Regions from separate parts of the Homo sapiens genome. Here regions 2, 3 and 4 are each linked to region 1. The links are contacts of gene promoters, found by promoter capture Hi-C in blood cells and fetal thymus (Javierre and others, 2016). All regions are on one chromosome and are shown on one strand. Each heading gives the region's core, a stretch centred on a gene start or on the middle of the fragment in contact. The rest is flanking DNA. Distances are from core to core; before and after follow the strand shown.

Region 1 (5,969 bases), core at 1,693-4,192:
TAACTTTCTCAGTGGGGAAAAAAACAAACGCTGAAAAGGTTTAAAGAGATTCTAGAGTTGACATTGAGCCCCCAGCCCTCACCTTCTGCCCTCTTTGCTATCTTCTCTCAAGGAAGAAGAAAGCAGCATTAGGTTTCATTTCATCTTGGAGAACCATCAGCGAGATCACACAGCCTTATTGCCAACCTTTGACAGTTCTATTACTCTAGTTGCTTTTCCTGAGAGGTCTCCCCTACCCCACCCATCAAAGCCTAACCCTCTCTGACAAGTTTTTCAATTTACCCAATCATCCCATCAGCAGTAAATGCTGAGATTAAAACGTGAGGATCAGAGGGACAGGGCAGCTTTTCTATAGCAGGACTGAGGCTGAGGCCATCAGCAGGGTCAGTATCAAGTGAGCTCCAAGCTCCGGCATCCCTGGCTTAACCCAGGGCCTTGGAAAGCTCACCCCTTTCTCTTATTTTCTCTCCCTATTCTTACTTATTGAGGATTTTAAAATAGTAAAGGAGATACTGCGTTTTTCTGAGTAAATCAAAATAATCAACCAAAAAGCTACAAAGAACTAACCCTAGTTTCCCAAAGAGTTTGTGAGCTAAATAATTTAAATGCTATATACCAGGTGAGGGCACAACAGATGTGTGGAGGGCAGTGGAGTGGGACCGTGCAGGTCCTGTGGGGAACGGGGCTGGGTGAGTTGGATATCCCCATTGGAGAGGATTGGAAAGTCTTTAAAATGTTAATACCCTTGGACTCAATATTCCACTTCTGGGACTCACCTGGAAGGAAATTATTCACACATAGGAGCAAGATTTATGAAGAAAAAATTTTATTGCCATTATTTACAATCAATAAAAGTTGGAAATATTCAATAAAAGGGAAATTATGAGATATTCATATGATAAAAATATTGTATGACATTTAAATTAATGTTTTTTAAAAATCCTCAAAGGAGGAAGAATTTCCCACAAAGTTATTTTTAACAAAAAGCAGGATGCACTTGTGTGTCTGTGTGTGTGTGTGTGTGGTTTTATCTCAACTTAGTTTAAAGCTAGAAAGCTAGAAAAAAGACTGGAAAGAAATATGAATATTACTAATGGCTTTCTCTAGGTGATGAGATTATGAATGCTTTTCTTCCTTTATGTTTCTATATTTTTCAGTTTTTCTAAAATAAACGTTTTCGCCTAGTGCAGTGGCTCATGCCTGTTATCCCAGCACTTTGGGAGGCTGATGAGGGCAGATCGCTTGAGCTCAGGAGTTTGAGACCAGCCTGGGCCATGTGGCAAAACCCCATCTCCACAAAAATTAGCTGGGTATGGTGGTGCATGCCTGTAGTCCCAGCTATGCAGGAGGCTGAGGCAGGAGAATCGCTTGAACTTGGGAGGCAGAGGTTGCAGTGAGCTGAAATTGCACCACTGCCCTCCAGCCTGGGCAATAGAGCAAGATCCTGACTCAAAAAAAAAAAAAAAACTCCAGCGTCAAAAATAAAATAAAATGAGAAGTAGGAGAAATTATTAGAGATTCTGGACCTTTTAGGGCATTTTTCCCTAATATCCACTCAGGCCGTGCCCAGATGGCCTTGCACCTTCAGCTGTGGCATCAAACAAAACTGGGAATTGCAGCTTTACCACTTATCTCGCTGCATAAGCTTCCACAAGCAAGTTACTTACTGTTTGTGCTTTTAGGTTCTTAATATGTAAAACAATGTTTTACATTAAAAATTAAATGAAATAGCTCCTGAAAAGCCCAGTCACATTGTCAGAGCTCAGTAAAAATGTGTTCCCTTATTCTAGTACTGGGGCAGAACACCTGCAGGTTTGTAGGTGGGGAGACAGTGGACAGAGTGGCTGGGTGATGAAGTGGGGCTCTAGAGGATGAGCAGAGATTGCCTCTGAGCCGACACCCTGGCCCTGTCAGTTCCCGTCCTCACATGATGGACATGAAGGGAACACGAATGAAGCAGATGATGATACGGTTAAGTAAATACCACCTGGGACCAGAGAGAGCCCTTCTCAAGGAGTCGCCAGCCCAGAGTCGGCCCTCTTCTGAGCTGGCCGGCTGGAGTCAATCTGCTTTGGACAACACAGCTTCAGATGGAGATAATACTGAGGCCAATGATCCTTGAAGACAAAATAATCTCTGGGCTTCTTTCTGCTCTGATTATAATGTTGCAATTATACTGAGCAGATGCTGATAGGAATTTGGTCAAATCCATCCCGTCTTCCATCTAACTTATTTTAGTGCCTGGTGGATTTCTGTCCAGCTCCACGGGCTGTGGCAATGCCGGGGCTGGCTGGAAGTGTGGAAGGGGCTGGCTGGAAGTGTGGAAGAGGCTGCCCGGGCTCCGGCATCAAGAGGTTTTCTCCGGTGGGGAGGAGTGCGCGATCTGATCCTTGGAGCGCTTGCAACTGTAGCCCTCCCCCAGGGCTCTGCGCTGATCTCCAGGGTCATCATCATAGTAACAGTAAGAACTTCATTTTATAGCATTTTTCAATCTGTAAGACAACGTCGTGTCCTTTATACCGTTGAAATTTCAATTTCACGACTACTCAGATGTTACGCGACTTGCTCAGTATCCAACACTTGGTTCCTTCACTGGCTCCCGGAGACCTGGGTGCTGAAGCCACTGCAAGGAGGTGTGTGCTCGAACACACAGCGAACACCGACTGCGTGGTTAGCAGGATTCGCTGGGGAAGAGGCCTCAGGAGAGTGCTGGAATTTCCAACCTTCGAGGTGCTAGTAACGTGTGTCGAGGAAGGGGTTGGAGAAGGGGAGAAAATGAAAAGAAGGGGAGAAAATGAAAAGATGGGGAGGAGGAGAAATGGTTTGGGTTTGGTTTTGGCTTGAGCCTCACCCAAGCGTCCCACGCCGCAGCTCCGCGGCCTCCTGGGGGCGCCCGCTCGCGTTGCCACGGCGCTCGCGCGGAGCCGCAGCCCGCCCAGCCAGCAGCGCGCGCTCCTGCAGCCCCGGCGGAGTCCCGGCGGGGAGCGCCCGCGTAGGCAGGCACCCGGGGCAGCCCTCCGTCCTCGCCGCGCGGCCTGAGAACCCCTGGGCCCTGGGCGAGGGGGCTGGGCTGTGCAGCCCCCGAGGCTAACTGGGCGGGATCGCAGCTGCAGGGGTTGTGCGAGCAGCCACGGCGGCACCTGTGCCCTGCGGGCACCCACCCTGCCCCTGCCGAGGCAGGCGCCCACCGCCGGCGGTGATGCGGCTGTGAAGCCCTAGTCGGTGAGTACCCTCCAGTCCCCCTGTGGGCGAGCGAATCTAAATGACAAGGTTATGTGTTTTGCTGGATGTCTTCTAAGAATCATTTATTTAGATTGCTTATGGTGGGGAAGCGTTTCCTTTGTGACATCTTTGTGTTTCTCGGATCTATTTCGTTTCCCTCTAAACGCAGCCCTCTCTCCCCTAGTGGGAAAGACACCCAGTATCCGTGTCTCGATCATCGCACGACACCCACCAGTGCGGATGCCACGTACCACACACTCCCCAGAGCCTGCCAGAGAGCAGGGCTGTCTCCCAGCCACGTCCACCCCATTTTCATTGTGCTTCTATCCCGCAGGCAAAGGAAGAGCGTACCCAGGCACCCCCGAGGTAGGCCAGGTGTCAGGACAGCCAGCAGGCCCTTGGCGAAGCCGGGTCCGCTCTGGCTAGCTCAGCGCGGTGAACCCATGAGCTCATTAGGAGCAGCGGCTGCTTTGCGCGGGGAACGCCGGTTTCCCTGCGGCAGAGGGGCCCTGCACCCGCCCGCGGCGCGCGGTGGTGGCCCAGGACCAGTGGCGCACACGCTTGCGCTCCCAGGCTGCAGGGCGCGCTGCGCCGGCGCAGCTCCCGGGCGTGTGCAACAAAAGGACGGCCAAGTTCATTCCCTCCTGGAAGCAGAGGGCGGGGCCGCATGACTTCTGGAGGCTGCATGTGTCTTAGAATCAAATGGTTATGACTCCATAGCAAAATGCTTTCTGTGTGTCAAGTCCTCTCCGTGCCTGCCAACCCCTTCCCTCCTCTCTCCTCCCTAAAATGCTTTCTTATTGGTCTGGCACTGTGATCAACTATTTAGAATTTTCATTGTAAAGAAATGAAAAAAGGGTGAAACCGAGACAAGCTGTAGGCTGAAAGGCTGGGCCCTGTGGTGCTATTCATTAGCTCTCAGGCCTGGCTGCTGGGGAGATTTTTAGAAATCCTGCTACCTGGGTCCAATCCCTGGAGATTCTGACTTAATTGGTCTGGGATATGGCCCAAACACTGGGATTTTTTAAATTTTCTTTTTGTGGGGAGGAGTGGTGGTGGGAAAATTTGGAGTGCATACTGGATTTTTTTTTTTTAACTTCCCAGGTGATTCTAATGAGCTAAGATGGCCACCCACCATTCTAATCAATCAGGGTGACATTTTTCCAGGTGAACTTGGTAATAGTTCAGTCTCTCAGGCTGCCGTTGGAGGGCAGGGTATGCAACTGTCATAAATGCCTACAAGCTACAGGCAAAGAGAGCTGGCAGGGCCTTGGGCTGCTCCAAGAAGCTCAGGATGAAGGCAGTGTCTCAAACGAGGGAGGGATCATCACTCTCGGAACAGGTCCCTTCACTAAATGAAGTGTTCTGATCTATATTCCAGGGCAAGGGGAAAGCAGATGCATACCTTTGCAAGTCTGTAGCATGAAAGCTGTGGCTCCCTGTACATTTGTGGACTTCATGGCTGCCTATGTACTAACCAGAGTCACATGTGTATATCCCCCCACCACCCACTCACTACAAGGAGAATGGACACTTAGAAAGCAGAAGAGGGGGCTGGGCGCAGAGGCTCAGGCCTGTAATCCCAGCACTTTGGGAGCCCGAGGTAGGCAGATCACTTGGGGCCAGGAGTTGGAGACCAGCCTGGCCAACATAGTGAAACTCAGTCTCTACTAAAAATACAAAAATTAACCAGGTGTGGTGGTGCATGCCTGTAGTCCCAGCTACTCGGGAGGCTGAGGCATGAGAATAGCTTGAGCCAGGGAGGTGGAGGTTGCAGTGAGCCAAGATCACACCACTGCACTCCAGCCTGGGTGACAGAGTAAGACTCTGTCTCAAAAGAAAAAAAAAAGGGTGGGGGTGCAGGTCGGAATGCAGTAGTCACTCTGGAGAAGGAAGAGGCAACAAATAAGATCACCTAGAAATTATAAAGTGTTATTATCCTTCTCAGGCCTAAAATCCTTCCACATGGCGAGTCCCTCGTAAGCCTATGGGAAATCCTAGAAACTTCCTCTCCCTGAAAATTGGAGTCCCAGGGTAAAATCTTCCCCACAGGTACTGTTGCAGACTGGGGGTGGGCGGCAAAAAGTTTCCTCTAACCCTTGCCTTCTAAAGTTACCATGAATGTTCATAAACACCAAGGCAGGTGGAGGCAGACACTCCACAGCGAGTTCACAATGACTAAGGGGCTCAAGGAAATTAGATAAGGTCTTAAAACTGGGGGTCTGAAATGTTAAAATTTTACATAAACTAGAAAATGTGATCTACCCACCTGGTGCCAGAACTTCACCAGGCACAGCTTCCTAATGACCTCGCTTTCATTTGGGTTAAGTAGAGAAGGGGTTAAGATCTCCTGCGAGATAGGTATAAATGATGGTACCATATCTTCTGAAACTCTTGGGCACGGCTCAGTCATACACCTCATAAATAGGCAAGGGGATTAAGATGTTGTTTAAAGCATACACAACCCACCCAATGTGGACAACAAAGCTTAATGTGCCAGGGCCACTGAGGGAGTGGCCAGGAAGGGTCTCCCTACCATAGAATGGCCACAGTCTCCCACATGGCCTACCAGATTGCTTGTCTCTGCATGCTCCTTTCTGCATTCCCACGCACTGACTACACACTCCCTCCCTCTCCCATGCCCCACTCCCTCCAAGCAACCCAAAACAGTTAGAACAACTTCCATCCTTCCCTTTAGTCTTTGCTTTTCTAGTCTGTGCATAGCCATGCATGCATCATTTTGTTCC
Region 2 (5,969 bases), core at 2,026-4,525, 240 kb after region 1:
GAAGCTGGCTCCCAGTCCTTCCAGCTGCGTTCCCAGCTATTCCAGAACAAAGAAAGGCCTGGCTGGGACAAATGTGGGCGTGTCAGGTAGAACAGAGGACAAAAATGGATGAGCAGCTCAAAGTGCATATCCTGTGGCCCTAGAGGACATCCCGTACAAGGAGAGCTGGGTCACTTGCCTGTTGGGAAAGGAAATGGGGCTTGGTAGTCACCTGACCCCCAGGCTCTTGTTCCTCAGAAGGGCTTGCTTGTCAGAGCTGCACCAGGCAGCCTTGGGCTGCAGTTCACAGCCACCTCAGGTGGCAGGAAATGATAAGTATTGCTTTAGGGAGGACACCAGAAAGGAAGGCTGCTGGGCCAGGCCAGAGCCACTGTCAGAAGCACACAAAAAGGCCACACGCCGTGGCGCACGCCTGTAATCCCAGCACTTCTGGAGACCGAGGCATGAGGGTCACCTGAGGTCAGGAGTTCAAGACCAGCCTGGCCAATATGGCGAAACCACGTCTCTACTAAAAATACAAAAATTAGCTGGGTGTGGTGGCACACTGGAGAGCCTGAGGCAAGAGAATTGCTTGAACCTGGGAGGTGGAGGTTGCAGTGAGCCAAGATTGTGCCACTGCACCCTGGGTGACAGTGAGACTCTGTCAAAAAAAAAAAAAAAAAAGTATAGGCTCTATCATTTTTAAATTTTAAAAACTATTTTAAAACAAAAAACAAGAAGCTCTTCTTTCATGAACCACCACATCTTTAACAGCTCCAAAGTCCCTCCTGAACCCTGAATCCTCACATAGTCCCATCTTAAGAATCAGCCAAAAATGAAGGGACAAGACATGCCATTTTATTCCATTTTATAAGCTGGCCACACTGGCCCACGTGCTAGACCCTCCCCTCTTCGTGTCCCCTGCTCGGATGACCTCCCCAGTGATGCCCAGTGAGGAGGGTGAGGCCATACCACCCAAACACTGGCCGGGGGCCGGAGCCTCCTGCCGCACACAGCACAGGAGCCTATGAGACCAGGCCCGTGGCCCTCCCAACAGCCTGTGGCTGCTCAGCTTCACCAGGAGCTTTTTCAGCAGCCTCTTCGTGTGCCCCCTGCCCCAAGGTCTTCCTGCAGCGGGGGCTTTGCCGGGGAAGGCAGAGGAGTCCAGTTGCTGTGGGTAGGCCACATGTGCCACAGCCACACTGCCAGAGAAGCCACCTACTGCCAGGACGGAGGAGGAAGACAGTCCCTGTGCTGCACACACAGCCCCTTTTCATGCCCCCGCGGCGTCCGAGCCACAGAGTGCACATCCAGTACTGGAGCAGGCTGTTTCCAGCCGTGGGGCCCAGGGTGGGGCCAGGGTGGGGTGGCTCAGGACTAGGTGGATGGGGCTGAGGGCCTCCCTGGACAGTCAACACCTGAACCGTGGTGAGGCTGCCAGTATTGAGTGGTCCCCAAAGTAGCCAGGGATAGCATCCTCCAGACGCGTAGGTGCGTGTGGAGCTACCTCGCGCAGCTGTGTGACACGAGACTGACTGAAGCTGCTGGTGTCTGCCCACCCACAAGAGGGCGGCAGGGAGCACAAGTTAGGTGAGCACCAGCTCGGTGTCCTGGCGGGATGTGTTCCTGTCTCTTCCCCCGACGTCAGCCTGGTCACAGCACTCACCCGGCCGGCGCCTCGCATTCCTCCCACCGACTTGGGACTGCTGACCAACTTAGGATGGGGGAGCACGTGGGAAGGCTGGAGGTTCCGGAGTCGGGCCCCGTGTAGATGCACAGATGCCTCCTGATGGGAGAACCCTAGGAGGACTCGGGAGGCAGCCCCCTGCAGCTCGAGGCCAGCCTCCCTGTTTCACGAACTTGCTGGGCCCCCGTGGAGTCCGTGTTCCCAGAGGGTTCAGCCGGCCCCATTGCCCCAGCCACCCCTCCACCCAGGCAGCAGGTCAGAGCTGGTGTCCCAGCAGCAGCTCCAGGGACAGGCCACGGGTCCCTGGGTCTTCACAAGGCCATCGTCAAGGATGAGGGATTTGTCCAGATGGGTGCTGGAGTGTCAGCGTTGAGGGGCTGCTCAACCCACAGGCACCCGGCCCAGCAGGCGAGAGGAGCCTCTCAGTGGTCAGCCCCCATGAGTGTCCAGGGCCTGCCTTTCTTTTCTTTTTTCTTTTTTCTTTTTTTTTTTTTTGAGACAGAGTTTTGCTCTTGTTGCCCAGGCTGGAGTGCAATGGCGCGATCTCGGCTCACCACAACCTCCGCCTCCCAAGTTCAAGTGATTCTCCTGCCTCAGCCTCCTGAGTAGCTGGGATTACAGGCACACGCCACCATGCCCGGCTAATTTTGTATTTTTAGTAGAGATGCGGTTTCTCCATGTTGGTCAGGCTGATCTCGAACTCCCGACCTCAGGTGATCCGCCCACCTCAGCCTCCCAGAGTGCTGGGATTACAGGCGTGAGCCACTGCGCCCGGCCCAGGGCCTGCCCCTCTAGCCCCCGGTTGTCTCCCCGGCAGAGTGGCTGCCAGGTCTTTCTCGGGAGAAAAGGAGAGAGAGGCACCTGGCAGCCAGCAGCTCCCTTTCCCCAGTGGGTCTCACTTCTTTTAAAAATGTTTTTAGAGAATTAAATACCTTTCAAAAATGTATCTCGGACCAAACTTGTTCCCTCGGGGGGCTGGGATGCCTTCCACCCGGAGGCCCCAGCACAGGGACCACCTGCCCAGCCAGACCGCCTCAGCAGGCAGCTCCTGCAGGTCCCGACTCTCTCGGCTCCTCCATGGCCAGTCATTCCCGCCCGTCCCCTGCGCTCTGTGTCTGTAGCTGCTAAGTTGCCGCTGCTGGCTGGTAAGAGAATTCTTCCTGTCCTTCCCCTGGTGTGGCCATGTATTTTGACAAGAAAAGACAAGCAGGAAATTGTCTTTTTCCCCAAGCTTCTTGCCCACGTCAAGGGCAGGCCTGCTCCACCAGCATCTGCCAATGCTTTGTTATCTCGGAGCAATCGCGTGCAGCTAATGGGAGGGGTCTCTGCTGTTGGAGAGGGTGGGATGGGAGGAGTCTCAGAATCAAGATCCAGGCAAGATCAGGGATAAAAAATTGGAAACCCACTTATTTCAAGCCAGGATTGTGATAAGAAGGACTTTGGTGAACAGCCCTAGGGTGAGGCCCACAAGCAGAAGCAATCGGATGGCACCAAAGACAGCACCGGCCCCCAGAACCCTGCAGAGCCTTGAGTAAGCGGGGAAGGCTTGCTGGCCTTCCCAGGCATGAGCATCCTATCCCTGGCCCCAGGGAGGGGGTAGTCTCTGCTCCCACCAGGTCAAGGTTTGGAGGAGGGTGAAGAACTTCGTGCATGAGACAAGGGGCATCAGAACAAGGTCCACCCCCAGCCTCCTCCCCCTAGCACCATCCTTTCCTCCTCCCTGGAGAGTCCTCCAAGGCCCCGGGGAGAACTAAAGCACAGCCACGCTCTTGGCAAGGCACCATGGCAGCAGAGCACGTAGGCGTAAGCACATGCAGTAGAGAGATTTGGTGTAGAGAAATAGAGATTAAGTAGGGCTAAGGCAGCTATAAACGTCATAGTTTTAGATGCATTTTCAGGTGCCAAAGAATTGCCCTTGGCTTTGAGAGCTGGACGGTGAGCTCAGCTGGGGCTGGGAGCCGGTGGCACCGTGTAGTACTGAAGCTTTCCCACACAGGGCCCAGGGGTGGCAGCGCCCCATCCAGGGAAGTCCCCTGGGTGGATCCGCCATTCAAAACTTTCCTGTCCTTTTCCTCCACGCCAGCGGAGATACAGGCTAAGACTCCCTAATGCAGGATTTCCTTTGAGCATCATGTCGGCAAAGATTCCAAAATCTGAAAAATTGAAACACCTCTGGTCCCAAGCATTCTAGATAAAGGGATACACACCCACCTGAAGGCCCCCCCCCCCCGCTTCTCCATCAGCACCTCTAAAGATGATCCCAAGAGCCTTCATCCCTCTCTCCAGGAAGATCTTTTACTGGAGGCCACATGCCTGTGAGAACCAAGCGCTAGACCAGGCGTCTGCCTGGCTGGCTGATGCCGGGTGCGGCTCTCCAAGCCTGTTTCTACCTTTGAACCAGGAAAAGAACATCCACTTCTCTGCCCCGTAAACAGATCCTAGACGCTGAGCACTTTGGGTTTTGTGGGGTGCTGGGCCATCCCTCTGTGGCTGCCTGAGTTGGTCCCATACAGGCATCTCTTCCCTGAAGGCTGACCCGGCCCTGCCCACGGCACGCCTGGGAGCGGCTCCTGCCCAGGCCTATGGCCGGAAACGCCACAGTGGCTCCTCTGGCTGGCATGAACTTCACGATGACACCTGGGTCTCAGTGCAGTTTGTAGGAAAGGAAGGATGCCACGGGGTCAGATCGTGTGTGGGGGAGATTTGGTACAGAAGCGAACACAGGAATGAAGATGGCAGAAACGTCACGTAAGGCGAGGCGTGTGTCTGCTGGCCTCTCGCCTATCGCAGGTCTGAACTGCGCACAGCATAAGGCTGCAGTGCTGAGACTCAGCCCCTCCCCGGGGGGCCACAGCCTGGGCCGTTCACTCTGCACGTGGCAGTCTTGGTTTCTGCACCTTTGAGCAGAATGCTAGACACAGTGGTGGTTTGCCCTCTGCTCAATATCCCTCTAACAAATCACCATGCAAAACATTCCAGCTGGGCACAGCCACCCCACGCCGGGACCCCCACACCGGGACCTCCACTCCCTTCCCTCTGCTGGGTGTGATTTGGCCAATATCCAAAGAGTTCACTTCAGAAAGGGCAGGGTGAGAGGAAGGATATCATGGGGGTCCCTGGGCTGGGCCAGCCCTGGGGCGGACGCCAGAGGGCCCAGCTCCCTCTGGGAAATCCTGCTCGCCCTGCCCCAGCACCCATTCTGAGCCACAGCCAGACTCTGGGAGGGCTGTGCTTGGAGTTTTCCAGCCCTTGGGCCTTAGGAGTTAGCCCTCTGAAAGTTGGTGGCGAGGGCTCACTAGCAGCTGAGGGTTGTTGGCATTAGATAGAGCAGTCCCAGGGAAAAGGCTGCTTGAAGCAATATGGGAAACCCCAGACTGGTCTTTCTGCAACAGCTGAGTCATGCCAGCCTCCCAGAGCTTCTGCAGGGTCACACCCACCCAGCAGCGGGGCTGGGGAATTCCTGGGGTCTACTTGCCTCCGCTCAGTGGGTGGGACTGGTCTTCACCATGGCCGTGATTTCACCATGGGGGTGAACATGATTTTCACCCCCCCAGGCTCTGGTCCTGCATCTCGCCATCTCTCCCCTCTCCTCTAGCAAGACTCTTGCCCTCACAACCCACCGGCCCTTCAAGGCCCAGCGCTTGGGGAAAGCACCTCCTAGGCAGGGAGCCACCCAGCCAGGCACCACCAGCCAGGCCCTTCTCTAGGCTGTCAGGGCAGAGCCCTGGGTCTAGGCAGAGAGGGGAGCTCTGTGGTCGGTGCTGACTTGGCCAGGAGCCACCAGCCCCGGTGCTGTGGCCCTTTGATGTTGGCTGAGAGCTCTGGGCCATCCCTGCAGCCCCAGTTCCTGGGGAACTAACTGCAGGGAGGGCTCTGTGCACCTGGCCTCCTGCCATGTGATGGTGTGTGTTCACTCTGTTTTTCCAACCCAGGTCTCGGGCAGGCGTTTATTGTCGGTTTCTGTCCCAGAGATGAGGGGAATGGGGTGGCCAGGAAGGAGGAAGCCTTCACTCCAGCAATCAGGCCCCCGCCAGTACTGGGGTGGGCTCCAGTTCAGGGGCTTAGGAGGCACCATGGAACGCATGGGCTTATTCCCAGGGGAGCAGAGGCCTTGTGCAGACCTCACCTCCTGCAGTGTGGGGGGATGAGATGCCTGGAGGGGCAGGAGGGAGAAATGGCCCACTTGGTAATAGCCATTACCGCGTGTCAGCCCTGGCCAGCAGGGGACAGGCCACCTCTGCCCCTGCCTCCCCAGCCCTGTCCTCAGGCCAGGAGGACACTGGCCCCTCCACCCCTCATTCCT
Region 3 (5,969 bases), core at 1,938-4,437, 220 kb after region 1:
CTGAGGCATCTCTGGCCCCACGGCCCAGGAAGTCCTATTGGTTCAGGACCTTGAAGCTGCAGGACCAGCCCCGGGGGTGCAGTGGCCACTCTGCCTTCTCAAACATCCACAAATCTTCGTCTAGTCTCTGGATGGGGGAACTTCCGTCTCTTTATAGCCTGCAGGTTCAGCGTTTAAATTGTGAGCTGGGGATGAAGAAAAGGAGTATCCTCTTACTTCCTCACTCTAGTGTGGCAGAGGGGAGCAGGGTGCCTCTGCTGACAGGCAGGCTCTCTGTGAAATGGACGAACTGGGAGGAGGCGGCCAGGAGCAGGGCCAGCTGCTGCCATCTGATCTTGCTCAAAGACTGACCCATGGGCTCATGGGAAGTGCCTGGTGTCAAGATGAATTCCTGTGGCCTGTAGGACTGAAGTTTGTGTGGTGGGGAGTGAGGGAGTCCAGAATGGAAGTAGGTCTCCTTTCCCAGGCCCTTTAAGGCCTGGAAATTGCAGCTTATAGGGCTACTCAGTGATGACCTTCAGTCAAAGAGATGGGATGGGGAGAAAGGTGAGGATGTGGATGTTCTTGGTTTGGGCTCACCTGATGCTGTTAATGCATGAAGTCCAGGCTACCAAAGGAAATGCAAAAACTTGAAGCACTTAGCATCCGATAGGCTGAGACGACTGGGATGTGTTACTGTGAGACAAGCACAGCAAGGAGATTTGGGTTCACCTAAGAAGGTCTGAGGTTTCCCAGCGAACCTGCGGTGCCCCTGCCCCCCTGCCCTGCTCTGCGCACTCTGATTTGGCCTCCTCAGTTAAGCCTGAGCCCAGATGGAGTTGGCCCCAGCCCACCTGTGCCCGACTGCGTCCGGGCCTATGGGGCCCTGCCCTCGTGCCATTTCTCTTCTTGCAGAAGATATCAGGAGAGAGCCTAGGCTCATCTTCATTCCTTCTTGCCCTTCTCCACAAATCACTTCTGCCAAGATGGAAAGCAGTGGATTAGATCTCAACACACAGACAGAATAACCGCATTTCATGGTTTAAGCCCTTCAGGAAGAAGACAGCTCCCTGCCCTCCTTACTCATGAGGTTGAGGTGGTGGTGCCATCAAGGTTGGTGGTTTCCGTAAAGCACTTGAGCGCCTGTGGCCTCCGTGAAGTCTGAGTGTAAAACAGTGCTTCGACGCCCCTGTCACGGGCCCTGTTATTCAAGCTTCTGCCAAAGGGCCGGAAAATAATATACCACTGAAGATTGGCGTTAGGGTTTTGCCAGAATTATTTCTTCTAGTCATTAGATAATCACATTTCCTCAAACATACACAACCCAAATGCCGTCTAAGTCAGTGGTTTTCAAAAAACTAGCAGCAGACCTCTTTTCACAAGATGATAAGTTCAAGTTTAAAATCAAAAAGAATTACTCTCAAATGTTAATAATTAACACAGATTTGAAAACACAGGTTATAGCAGAGAGTGGTGGACATGACCAAGCCCCGGCATCCAGCCAGTACACACAAGAACTGTAGTTGCTATAAGTGACAACATGGTTTTTTTTATTTGGTTGGTTTTTGGTTTTTTTAACAGCTTACTTGGAAATCTCAGGATTTCTGCAGTTTAAATGATGTAGACACTAGAAGTTTAAAATGAGGCAAGAGCTTTTTTTTTTTTTTTTCCACAGTTGGATCACAGCAAATCTAACAGCAGTTCCTATTCCTCATGACAAGCAAGTCTCAAACAAGAGGCTCCCAAACAAAGTAAACAAAAACCCAGCCATGCTGTAATACCGCAGCAAAACGTGTTACCCACCTACATAAAGGGACTCGCTGACAGGCGTGCGTGCTGTCAGTGAGCTGTAGCTCTCCCGGACAGACCCTGAACGGTGGCAGGTGAGCACTATGCTGCAGGCCAGAATTTAAATAAACAAATGAATAAAATGTCCTCTTCACTAACACATTTACAGGGAGTTCAGCCACTTACACACAGAGAGAGGCGGAAACTTGATCCTGAGGGCTCCACAAAATCAAGCTCACCTGGCAGCACAAATTATTGGGTTGATGGTCTCCAGTGGGTGAAAAGTTGGCATATAAAACATTTGGGCCGGGCGCGGTGGCTCACGCCTGTAATCCCAACACTTTGGGAGGCCGAGGTGGGCGGATCACCTGAGGCCGGGAGTTTGAGACCAGCCTGACCAACATGGAGAAACCCTGTCTCTACTAAAAATACAAAAAATTAGCCTGGCATGGTGGTACATGCCTGTAATCCCAGCTACTCGGGAGGCTGAGGCAGGAGAATCGCTTGAACCTGGGAGGTGGAGGTTGCGGTGAGCCGAGATCACGCCATTGCAGTCCAACCTGGGCAACAAGAGCGAAACTCTGTCTCAAAAACAAAAACATTTGAAGGTGGTGTGTCTTATTTTAATAAGGGCTCTTGAAAGAGCTACAAGTATTTGTACATCAGGTATTTGGGAGACCCCTTGGAATGCCTTTGGAAGAACCTTAGGGTTCCACAGAGGCTTGAAAACCACTGTCGTAGTGCAAACTCCTTCCTTTAGATGAGTCTTCAGCAGATATCTCTATCCAAAGATGTTTCTGTTCTGTTTTTCAAGATGGGCCTTAGTAGCTCTGTTGGGATATTTCGTTGTGATGCATTTGAGAAACTCTCTGGAATTTTCAGGAATTATGGTTCCTACCATAAGAATATAAGAATTTCCAAATATGTTCCTTCTCTTACGTGAATACATCCCTTCCAAGCTGGTCTCCCATCACAGTTCCCCGTGGCCCTGCCCCTCCTTGGCCGATGCCGTCTCTGAAGCCCAGGTGTGCGTGCTGCTGCTGCTTTCTCTCCTGCTTCTGCGTCCCGTTCCTCTTCTTAGTCTTGTGGCACCTGGCTGAGCCCTGAAGAAGGCAGTGGCAGCTGGGCATGATAATAATCTGGAGTCTTCTCATCATGGCAGTCTGCCCTTCCCTGGGGACTGTAGTAAACTGGCTGGAACCTGCCATCATCTCACTTGGGGGTCTCCAGCTTCCATCACCGTCTGAGGGCGTCAGACTTTGTTAGCCAAGCTGCCTTTCCAGAGAAGCGCTCTAGCATGGACCTGCCATCCCGTTCTCCGTTTGTCTAAGGTATGACGACGTATGGCCAGGCTGCAAGGATTAGCTTCAGCACCTTTGATCCTAGGGCCAGGCCACAACTTAGGTAATTTCCAGTCCTGGGGCACCTGGGAAGCCTTTTTGTTACAAAAACACTGACTCAGCCTTGAGCATGCATTGAAAAACTGGGGCAGGACCGCATTCTACCACTGTGTCTGCTGTGTCACTCTCAAGGGGAGGCCCTCAGGTGGGACCGGAGGCTGTGAGGATCTGCATTCAGAATGCGGGGTTTGGAGAGAGGGCAACACCATGGCGGCCGAGTGCTGTGCTCTGTGTGTCTTTATGATTCTGGGGAGATGAGGACCGCCTGCTCAAGCCCAGCCTCTCGGCAGTGCCCAGTCTGCATCTCAGGCGTGGAAATTACATAGCGCTCTTGGCCAGACAGCTGTGGAACTACCAGGCTAGGAGTGCCCCAGGCCAGCACACCTCCAGGAGCCTTCGGCCGAGTGCCTGGGGGAAGAACTCTGCATGAGTCTCTGCTCGTTTCCTGTTGTTAAGAAGGCCGACTGAATTTGGAGGCCTAAGCCTCGAAACAGGATCCCCTTTCTCTCAAACCCATTCGGCAAAAGTGGGTCTGCAAGGCATTTGATAGAGTCAGCAGTGGGGTCGTGGGAATTCCTGGGAGAGCACTGACTGCACGAAACCTAAGGATTTCAGAGCTTCTGTAGGACGTTTGCCTCCTGCCTCCAGGCCCTCAGCCTGGGGCTTCCAGTATCAGCAACTGACACGCAGGCAGCCCCGCTCTATTAACTCTTAGTTAGAGAAGGTTCAGTCCCAGGGGCAGGAGTTCCCAGCAAAGCCAAAGCCTCTGTCCTGGCTGATCCCTGGTGTACGTGGGATCATGTTGATAGTGACCATTGACTCCCCACAGTGAGTTTTAGTTACCGCCCTCCTCCCGCAGCCACGCAGTATGCAGATACGGCATGTGTGGACATGCAGTATGTGATGCACTTAGGCACGCATGCCTTCCAGCCGTTCCTCTGCCGCCTCGCTGTGTCTGTGTTTCTTGCGCTCCATATCATTGATTGCTCCATATCATATCATTGATTGGGTATGGGGGGACAGGAGGACTACCTGATGGAATAACTCTCTCTTCACCGATTCCTTGTTGTAGACTATTGGGGAGAGTCTTATTACAGTGACCTCATCGACTTGCATCTGGGTGGTATGTATGGCAGCGCCTGTGCTGACACTAACCCCGCTGACGCCCTTTCTCCACCCACGCTTCCCAGTCCCTGCTCACAAAAACAAGGAGAAATCAACCCAATAACCAAATGGCAAAAGCACAGACCCTTTTCCAGCTCAAAACAGAGCAGCGTGCTGATCTCCCCGCTGCCCACATGTGCTCCAGAGGAAGATCTGAGCTTGCTTTTGCTGCCTGGGGTCGTTTTTAATTTTTTATAATAAAACTTTGCCCACCCGACTCCACCAGCCTTGCATCTGCGTCCTGGTCCCCTAAATACACACACTCCAACACAGCTTTTGCCCTGAATCTCATCCCTCACTGCTTGTAGGAATCATATCTGCTAGGGAGCTCACTGCCTGCCACACTTACGCAAAGAAGCAAACATGCCAAGATCTCAGCCCGACCATTTTCACTGGGTCGTGGTCTCGTTTCTCCCAGAAGAGCTGAGTGCGAGGGAAAGGCTTCTCTGTAGTGATTTCTGCCCGGAGTCACCAAACTCAAAGCCAGGTTGACGGGTGCCCATAACAACGTCCCTCCCTCCTTGCTCTGTCCTGGGGCTCACTTTGTACTTCTTTTCAGTGAAGACAGGAAAAGCTCCAGGCCGTGGTTCTCAAAGTGTGGTCCCTGGACCAGCAGCAACATCACCTAGGAGCCTGTTAGGAAGGCACAGCCTCAGGCCCTGCCCCAGACCTGCAGAATCAGAAACTCTGGGGTGAGGCCTGGTTATCTGCTGTAACAGACCTTCCAGTGGGTTCTGATGCCCTCTAGAGCAGGAGAACCACTAGCTTAGAGGTTGCAGTATGTTTGGCATCTTGCCATTTGTGTTAGTTCAGAGGAATGGCTGACCCCCATGTCTCATTTCTAAGCTTCAGGCAGCTTTTCTCCTGGGCAGCTGTCATTCTGTTGAGGGGAATCCTGGGGACTGTGGCTCCTCCTCCCTGTCCGTGTGTCCTTGATCTGGCAGTCTACCCCCTTCATCTCCCCGTGGAGGCTCCATGCCTAGAGGTGGTCTTCAAACAGAAGAATGGCAAAGATAATTGTCTCGTGTTTTACCCTGACCCCATTCCTTTAAGAGGGTCACTTCTTGGCCCATTCATTTAAAAACCAATGTCATAGTTCTGTGATTCCACCTATCAGACAGTGCCACGTCCAAGGCGGGGCTCTCACCTCCCTGGGAAGAGAGACTGTTGCTGTCTGTGCTTCCTGTGTTCTCCAGTCCCACGCTCCCACGGACCCACGCCCTTGGAGACTCCCTCAGTGTCCCAGGGCTTCTGGTGTGTTCAGAGACCTCCACACTCAACGACCACTGGTGCTGCAGAAGGGCCGGTGCTTACATTCCAATTAACAGACGCTTTTCCCATCTAATGCCTCTTGCCTTCTCCTAACACCACCTCGGGAGTGTTTATGTCTATTCTAAGTGAATTTCACTGTGTGAAAAAATTCACACCTGTTATCCCAGCAATTTGGGAGGCCAAGGCAGGTGTATCATTTGAGCCCAGGAGTTTGAAACTAGCCTGGGCAAGATGGTGAAACCCCGTCTCTATAAAGAAATTTTAAAAATTAGCTGGGCATAGTGGCACGTGCCTGTAGTTCCATCTACTAGGGAGGCTAAGGTGGGAGGATCACATGAGCCCAGGAGTTTGAGGCTGCAGTGAGCT
Region 4 (5,969 bases), core at 2,080-4,579, 180 kb after region 1:
GCTCTTTTAGAGTAGAGAGTGTTTTAATCTGCTTTGTTTCCCGTGGTCCTAGTAGAATTCTTGCCAGACAGTATGCGTTCCCCACGTTACCCACGTCAAACAGACGCCTCTTGGATGTTTTCCTTCCCAAGTTTCGTTCACTCTACTGTAAAATCACTTCCCTCTGAATTGATGGCTGTTAGTTGTTTGTTTCCCTGAAGTGATAGTTCTTATCCTGTTTTTCTTCTCCCATCTAAAAGAAATACCACTTTTTGTTCCGTATTTATGGAATTCCCAGAAAGCTGATTCTTGGGTAGTTGCTTGACTTTATCTCCCTTTCTCATCTGCTTTCCATTGAATGGCAGTTGTCAAAAATAAATGATGGAAAGAATCAAATGGCGCCACAGACAGTGTATCCTCAGCCCTCCCCTGTTCATTATGGGGTGGCCGCCATGGATTTTGATGAGGAGAAGGAAGGGATGGGAAGACTGGTATTTGGGAATGATGAGCTAGTGCAGTTAGGGCCTTTGCTGTCCCAGGCCTGGGAGGGCAGGTTTGGAGAAACTTGAGGCCGGATCTATCAGGATTGCCCTCTGCCTCTTTTCTGCCATTACCTCTAGTCCACATTTCCTCATCTTCAAGATGCCCTAGCCCAGCATCATAGCATATTCTTTTTGTGCCCTGAGCTCGGTGTTGAAGAATGGAGCATGATGTTTAAAAAGGTCCCCCAGCAAGGATGCAAAGGCTAAAACAAGTGGGCACGTGTACAGGGCACAAGTGAACTCAAGTATTCGTGTTTTGCCCCTTCATCACACCATTACCTGAATTTGTATGTGAATACGCCACTGGATCTTGCTTTGTTAGTAAAGATTCTCTAGTGAATTCGAAAGATGCTATTTGGTGGAGGATGCCAGTAATTCCAACAGATGTGCCAAGACCTTATCCTGTGACTACCAGGGTTCATTAAAAGCTCTGTCTGAGGCTGCCACAAAGACGTTCAAACACTGCACACAACAGAAGTGCAGGCCTTCAGAAAACACTTTGTGCACAACCTGTCGTGCTACAAAAATTGCTGAATCACCTGCCGCTTTCCTTTAGCCAGGTTTTGCCTGATGGACCACCTGTCTCTCAACACTGGCTTGTATGATGTGGCATGCCAAAACCCAGCGTTGTCTCCTAGAGCTTAGAATGTTGCAGGAATCGGTGACCTGCCCAGCCAGGATGCCAGCCCAGTCATGACCTGCTCCCTCCAGCACCTCTGCCCCTTCTCTGCCTCCTTGAAGGTCTGGTAACACAGCCGGGCATGGTGGCTCCCGCTTGTAATCCCAGCACTTTGGGAGGCCGAGGCGGGCGGATCACGAGGTCAGGAGATTGAGACCATCCTGGCTAACATGGTGAAACCCGTCTCTACTAAAAATACAAAAAAACTAGCCGGGTGCTGTGGCAGGCGCCCGTAGTCCCAGCTACTCGGGAGGCTGAGGCAGGAGAATGGCGTGAACCTGGGAGGCGGAGGTTGCAGTGAGCAGAGATCGTGCCACTGCACTCCAGCCTGGGCGACAGAGCGAGACTCCGTCTCAAAAAAAAAAAATGTCTGGTAACACCAGGCTGCTACCACATGGCACTGTGCCTCAGCCCTGTTTCTCAGTAACGACTGTTCGCTCTCCAGAGCCTGTGGATGCAGCTTTCCAGGAGTATGCACACAGTGGTGGGGAAATATTACTGGACACCAGACTTGCTGCTTCACTCATGTTTCCTGGGCACTCCCCAGGTGGCAGGCGTTAAGTGGAAGAGGAAGGTGACCGTGTGTGTGGGGTGCAGGGTCAACACGCACCCCCACATGAGTATGTGTGCATCGTGTCACTCGGTGTCCATGACGGCTCTGGGAGGTGGGTGGTGCCATCATTTATCTATCAGGAAACGAGCTCTGAGGAGTTCTGTAAATTTTCTAAGACCCTTCAGCCAACTACTGGTGGAGCCAGGCATCTGGAAGATGAGGAAATCTGACCTGGGGTTGCCCGCCTCCACCTGGACCCGGTGCTACTCACATTACAGGGGACACACCAGAGGACTCATGACAGCCTCCTCTGACCAGGATCAGGAGGACAAGGGACGTCAACAGAGAATAGTGGTGATGATAAGGGAGGCAGCAGAACTGTTCCATGTTAAAGGAGACCAAAGCACAGTTGTAAAACACATTTTCAAAAATCCGAGTCCATAGCAGTACTTGAAAGTATAAAGTTAAAAATGGGAAAAGTGCTTCTTTACCAAAGAATGGTAGTGGAGGAGGAGTGATGGGATTTTTTTTTTTTTTTTTTTTTTTGAGATGAAGTCTCGCTTTGTCACCCAGGCTGGAGTGCAGTGGCGCAATCTCGGTTCACTGCAAGCTCCGCCTCCCAGGTTCACACCATTCTCCTGCTTCAGCCTCCCGAGTAGCTGGGACTACAGGCGCCCGCCACCGTGCCTGGTTAATTTTTTGTATTTTTAGTAGAGATGGGGTCTCACTGTGTTAGCCAGGATGGCCTTGATCTGCTGACCTCGTGATCCACCTGCATCGGCCTCCCCAAGTGCTGGGATTACAGGCGTGAGCCACCGCACCCAGCCAGAGTGATGGGATTTTAAAATCACCTGGTGTGACGCCCTGTGCACACAAAGGACTCCGGCCAAGATCGCCGACGATGCTGAAACCACAGGGTGAAAGGACGCAGGCAGGGCACCCCGTGGCTTCAGAAGCCCACGGAGGACTGATGGGGAAGTGTGCCTGTGCATCGCAGAGAGGCCTGGGTGCCACCTCTGTGAGCGGTCGGGCCTGGTGTCCTTCCTCTGAGCAGCGGTGCTGCGGTAGGGGCAGCATCGCCCACGTGGCCTTATGAAACCGAAAGTGCCTTATCTAACTGTGAGGAGACAGATCCGCAGCATGAGACGTTCTTCAGGCAGCTGGCCAGGCCCCCTCAGTGGTGGGGCACGTGCCTGGTGGGGACTTGGATCCCGGGGCAGGCATTGGGGGAGGCACCTGGTGGGGGCCTGGATCCCTGGGGCAGACTGCACCGGGGATGCCCTTCTCAGGCAAGGCTGCTTCAGGGGCACCTGGCTCCTGGCTGCCTGCGGTCTGGCCCACACCCCTCACCACCAGTCACTCTTGTGGGGAGACTGCGTCTCCCCTCTGGGGGCCGGGTTCAGGGTGATGAAGGAGAGAGAACGCTCTGACCTGGAGGGCAGACAGGGCCACCTTCCTTTCTCCTGCAGAGTGAAATTCCCTCTCACATGCCAGGGTCCTTCTCTGGCCTCTGGCAACTCTGCAAATGCTCTGACCTTTGTCCTGCCCCACATTCTGGCAGGAGGGCCTGCAGCCTGGGTGTCAGCCCCCACCCCCACGCCCCGTCTGTGGTTGGACCTCAGTGCAGTGCTTCTGTGCTTGTCCCGCAGGTTCAGGCGTGAACGGCCTGGAGGAGCCCAGCATCGCCAAGCGACTGAGGGGCACCCCAGAGCGGATCGAGCTGGAGAACTACCGCCTGTCCCTGAGGCAGGCTGAGGCACTGCAGGAGGTACCGGAGGAGACTCAGGCCGAGCACAACCTGAGCAGCGTGCTGGACACGGGCGCCGAGGAGGACGTCGCCAGCAGGTCAGCACGCAGGGCTGCAGGGCGCCCACCCGCCACACGGCCCTAAGAGCCTCCTCACCTCTGTGTGTCTCGGTTTCTTCTCAGTGAAGGGAGGCCTCCTGTCTTTCCTGCTGCCCGCAGTCCATTCTCCCCAGTCCCTTTTAGGTTCTTAGCCTCATCTTCTAGTCAGTGAGGACTCCTCCATCAGACTCAATTCAGAGATTCAGGAAGTATTTATTCCTTGAGGACCTGACATGTCCCCAGCTCCAAGTCTGTCATTGGGAAGGAAAGTGGCAGGCTCTGCCCCCGGGTTATTCACAGATTCAGCAGAGGGAAGGACGGGCACACGGGGAGGGACTCTGGGTGATTCAGCCACCAGTGCACCGGGCCGTCTTGAGGGAGGCCTAGTCCGTCCCCCAGGCATCTTTTTTTCTCCTGTAGGTAAAGAAAGGGACTGAAAATGTGTGCCCCAGGGGCCGCATGCAGCACCAGTGGATGCATGCTTAGGCAGTTCCAGAGCTGTAATCACATCCAGCTGGGTGACACCTTTGGGGATGTGCATGCTATAACCCTAGGACTCCCTATATCCACTGCCCTGCACCCCAGGGCTTCCAGTATCAGCGAAGGCTTCAAAGTGTTCAGCCGATTACAGATGATCAAGAGAGCCAAGAATCAAAAGGGGGTCCGGTGTCCTGTGGGGCTTCAGGACAGAAACACAGGCTGCAAACCCGAGGGGCAGAGGCCTCAAGTGGCCTTGGAGAGCATTTGAATCACACACCTTGATTTAGCCATGATGAAGGGAACATGTGGGGATAAGGAGAGCAGAGCAGTTTTTTTAAGGTCCAAGAACGCTTTCCAGAAGGTGTTTGCTGGGCCGAGCTGCTTTCAGCTGCACCCGCCACCTCAGCCCTCATGTCAGACACCCTCTGCCTAGATTCATTCTTGGGCTGCCTCACAGACCGCTCCTCCGTGCATGCCGGGGGCAGCCTCTGCCTTGGTGTCTGCAGTTCCAAAGCTGTCACTGATGGTGCATCCTCATCCAGAACTCTGCTTCCCTATCCAGAGCACCCATGGAGGCCCCACTCTCCCCACTGTGCCCAGATGAGGGGGAGCCCACTCTCTCTCTCCACTGACCCTGCAGTGAGGGTGAGAGATGCTGTGTGTCAAAACACATTTATAAACCCTTGAGCAGAGCTACTGGCTTGACCTTGGGCTGAGTGTGGGTCAGCACCATTTTCTCCACTGTAATTTATAAATTGTGAGAGGCAGTGGGGCAGCAAGTTCATGTAATGTAGCAAGGACATTCCAGGAAGGCTAACCCCTGGCATTTATGGCAGGTATGACAGGAGGGCAGCACAGAAAACATGAAATCAGTCAGCATCTATGCAATGCAATACATGCCTCATCTTACTCAGATTGAAGTTAAAAAAAGATTTTAAAACTAGCATTCATGCTGGGCGCAGTGGCTCATGCCTGTAATCCCAGCACTTTGGGAGGCCAAGGTGGGCACATCACTTAAGGTCAGGAGTTCAAGACCAGCCTGGCCAACATAATGAAACCCTGTCTCTACTAAAAATACAAAAATTAGCTGGGCATGGTGGTGCACACCTGTAATCCCAGCTACTTGGGAGGGTAAGGCATGAGAATTGCTTGAACCTGGGAGGCGGAGGTTGCAGCGAGCCGAGATCATGCCACTGCACCACTGCACTCCAGCCTGTGTGACAGAATGAGACTCCATCTCAAAAAAAATTAAAATTAAAATCAAAAAATAAAATAAAGGCCAGGCACGGTGGCTCACACAGGAGAATCACTTGAACCTGGGAGGCGGAGGTTGCAGTGATCTGAGATCACACCAGTACACTCCAGCCTGGGAGATGGTGAGACTCCGTCTCAAAAAAAAAAAAAAAAAAAAAAAGATAATTAAAAGTAGCATTCAGTGCTATACAGAATGAAAAACAGTCTCTTAAAAGTGAAGAGCCGGGTGCGGTGGCTCACGCCTGTAATCCCAACGCTTTGGGAGGCTGAGGTGGGCGGATCACTTGAGGCCAAAAGTTCGAGACCAGCCTGGCCAACATGGTGAAACCCCATCTTTACTAAAAATACAAAAAATTAGCCGGGCATGGTGGCGGTCGCCTGTAATCCCAGTTACTCGGGAGGCTGAGGCAGGAGAATCACTGGAACCCAGAAGGCAGAGGTTGCAGTGAGCCAAGATCGTGCCATCAAACTCCAGCCTAGGCAACAAGAGCGAAACTGCATCTTAAAAAAAAAAAAAAAAGGGAAGAGCCCAGCTAGGTGTGGTGGCTCATGCCTGTAATCCCAGCACTTTGGGAGGCTGGGGTAGGCAGATCACTTGAAGTCAGGAGTTCAAGACCAGCCTGGCCAACATGGTGAA

What was found. Contacts are between HindIII fragments. The CHiCAGO score rates a contact against its expected background, and 5 or more counts as called.
Region 2: a contact is called between a fragment that was not itself captured here and the fragment with the promoter of MICAL3 in region 1, in 5 of 17 cell types (erythroblasts, megakaryocytes, naive CD4 T cells and 2 more). The highest score is 8.2, in erythroblasts.
Region 3: a fragment that was not itself captured here is called in contact with the fragment with the promoter of MICAL3 in region 1 in 13 of 17 cell types (erythroblasts, total B cells, megakaryocytes and 10 more); the score reaches 9.2 in erythroblasts.
Region 4: a contact is called between a fragment that was not itself captured here and the fragment with the promoter of MICAL3 in region 1, in 15 of 17 cell types (naive CD8 T cells, naive CD4 T cells, megakaryocytes and 12 more). The highest score is 17.6, in naive CD8 T cells.

Annotation. Positions count from the first base shown.
Region 1 is chr22:18,021,534-18,027,502 of GRCh38, reverse strand. MICAL3 (microtubule associated monooxygenase, calponin and LIM domain containing 3) reads left to right here and starts at 2,942. Exons shown (of 32, transcript NM_015241.3): 1 at 2,942-3,222. RefSeq lists a silencer at 2,805-3,214. The HindIII fragment of the contact is 4,064 bases long and covers 1,648-5,711 here.
Region 2 is chr22:17,780,979-17,786,947 of GRCh38, reverse strand. No RefSeq gene overlaps it. Among named protein-coding and RNA genes, the nearest start is that of LINC00528, 6.7 kb to the right of the region's middle. RefSeq lists enhancers at 286-335, 1,586-1,695, 1-2,037, 4,944-5,393, 4,755-5,768. The HindIII fragment of the contact is 752 bases long and covers 2,900-3,651 here.
Region 3 is chr22:17,802,132-17,808,100 of GRCh38, reverse strand. All of the region lies in intron 29 of MICAL3 (microtubule associated monooxygenase, calponin and LIM domain containing 3), which reads left to right. Among named protein-coding and RNA genes, the nearest start is that of LINC00528, 28 kb to the right of the region's middle. RefSeq lists enhancers at 2,450-3,288, 3,289-4,129, 3,124-4,323. The HindIII fragment of the contact is 3,985 bases long and covers 1,195-5,179 here.
Region 4 is chr22:17,839,451-17,845,419 of GRCh38, reverse strand. MICAL3 (microtubule associated monooxygenase, calponin and LIM domain containing 3) reads left to right here. Exons shown (of 32, transcript NM_015241.3): 20 at 3,403-3,598. Among named protein-coding and RNA genes, the nearest start is that of LINC00528, 65 kb to the right of the region's middle. The HindIII fragment of the contact is 7,527 bases long and covers 1-5,969 here.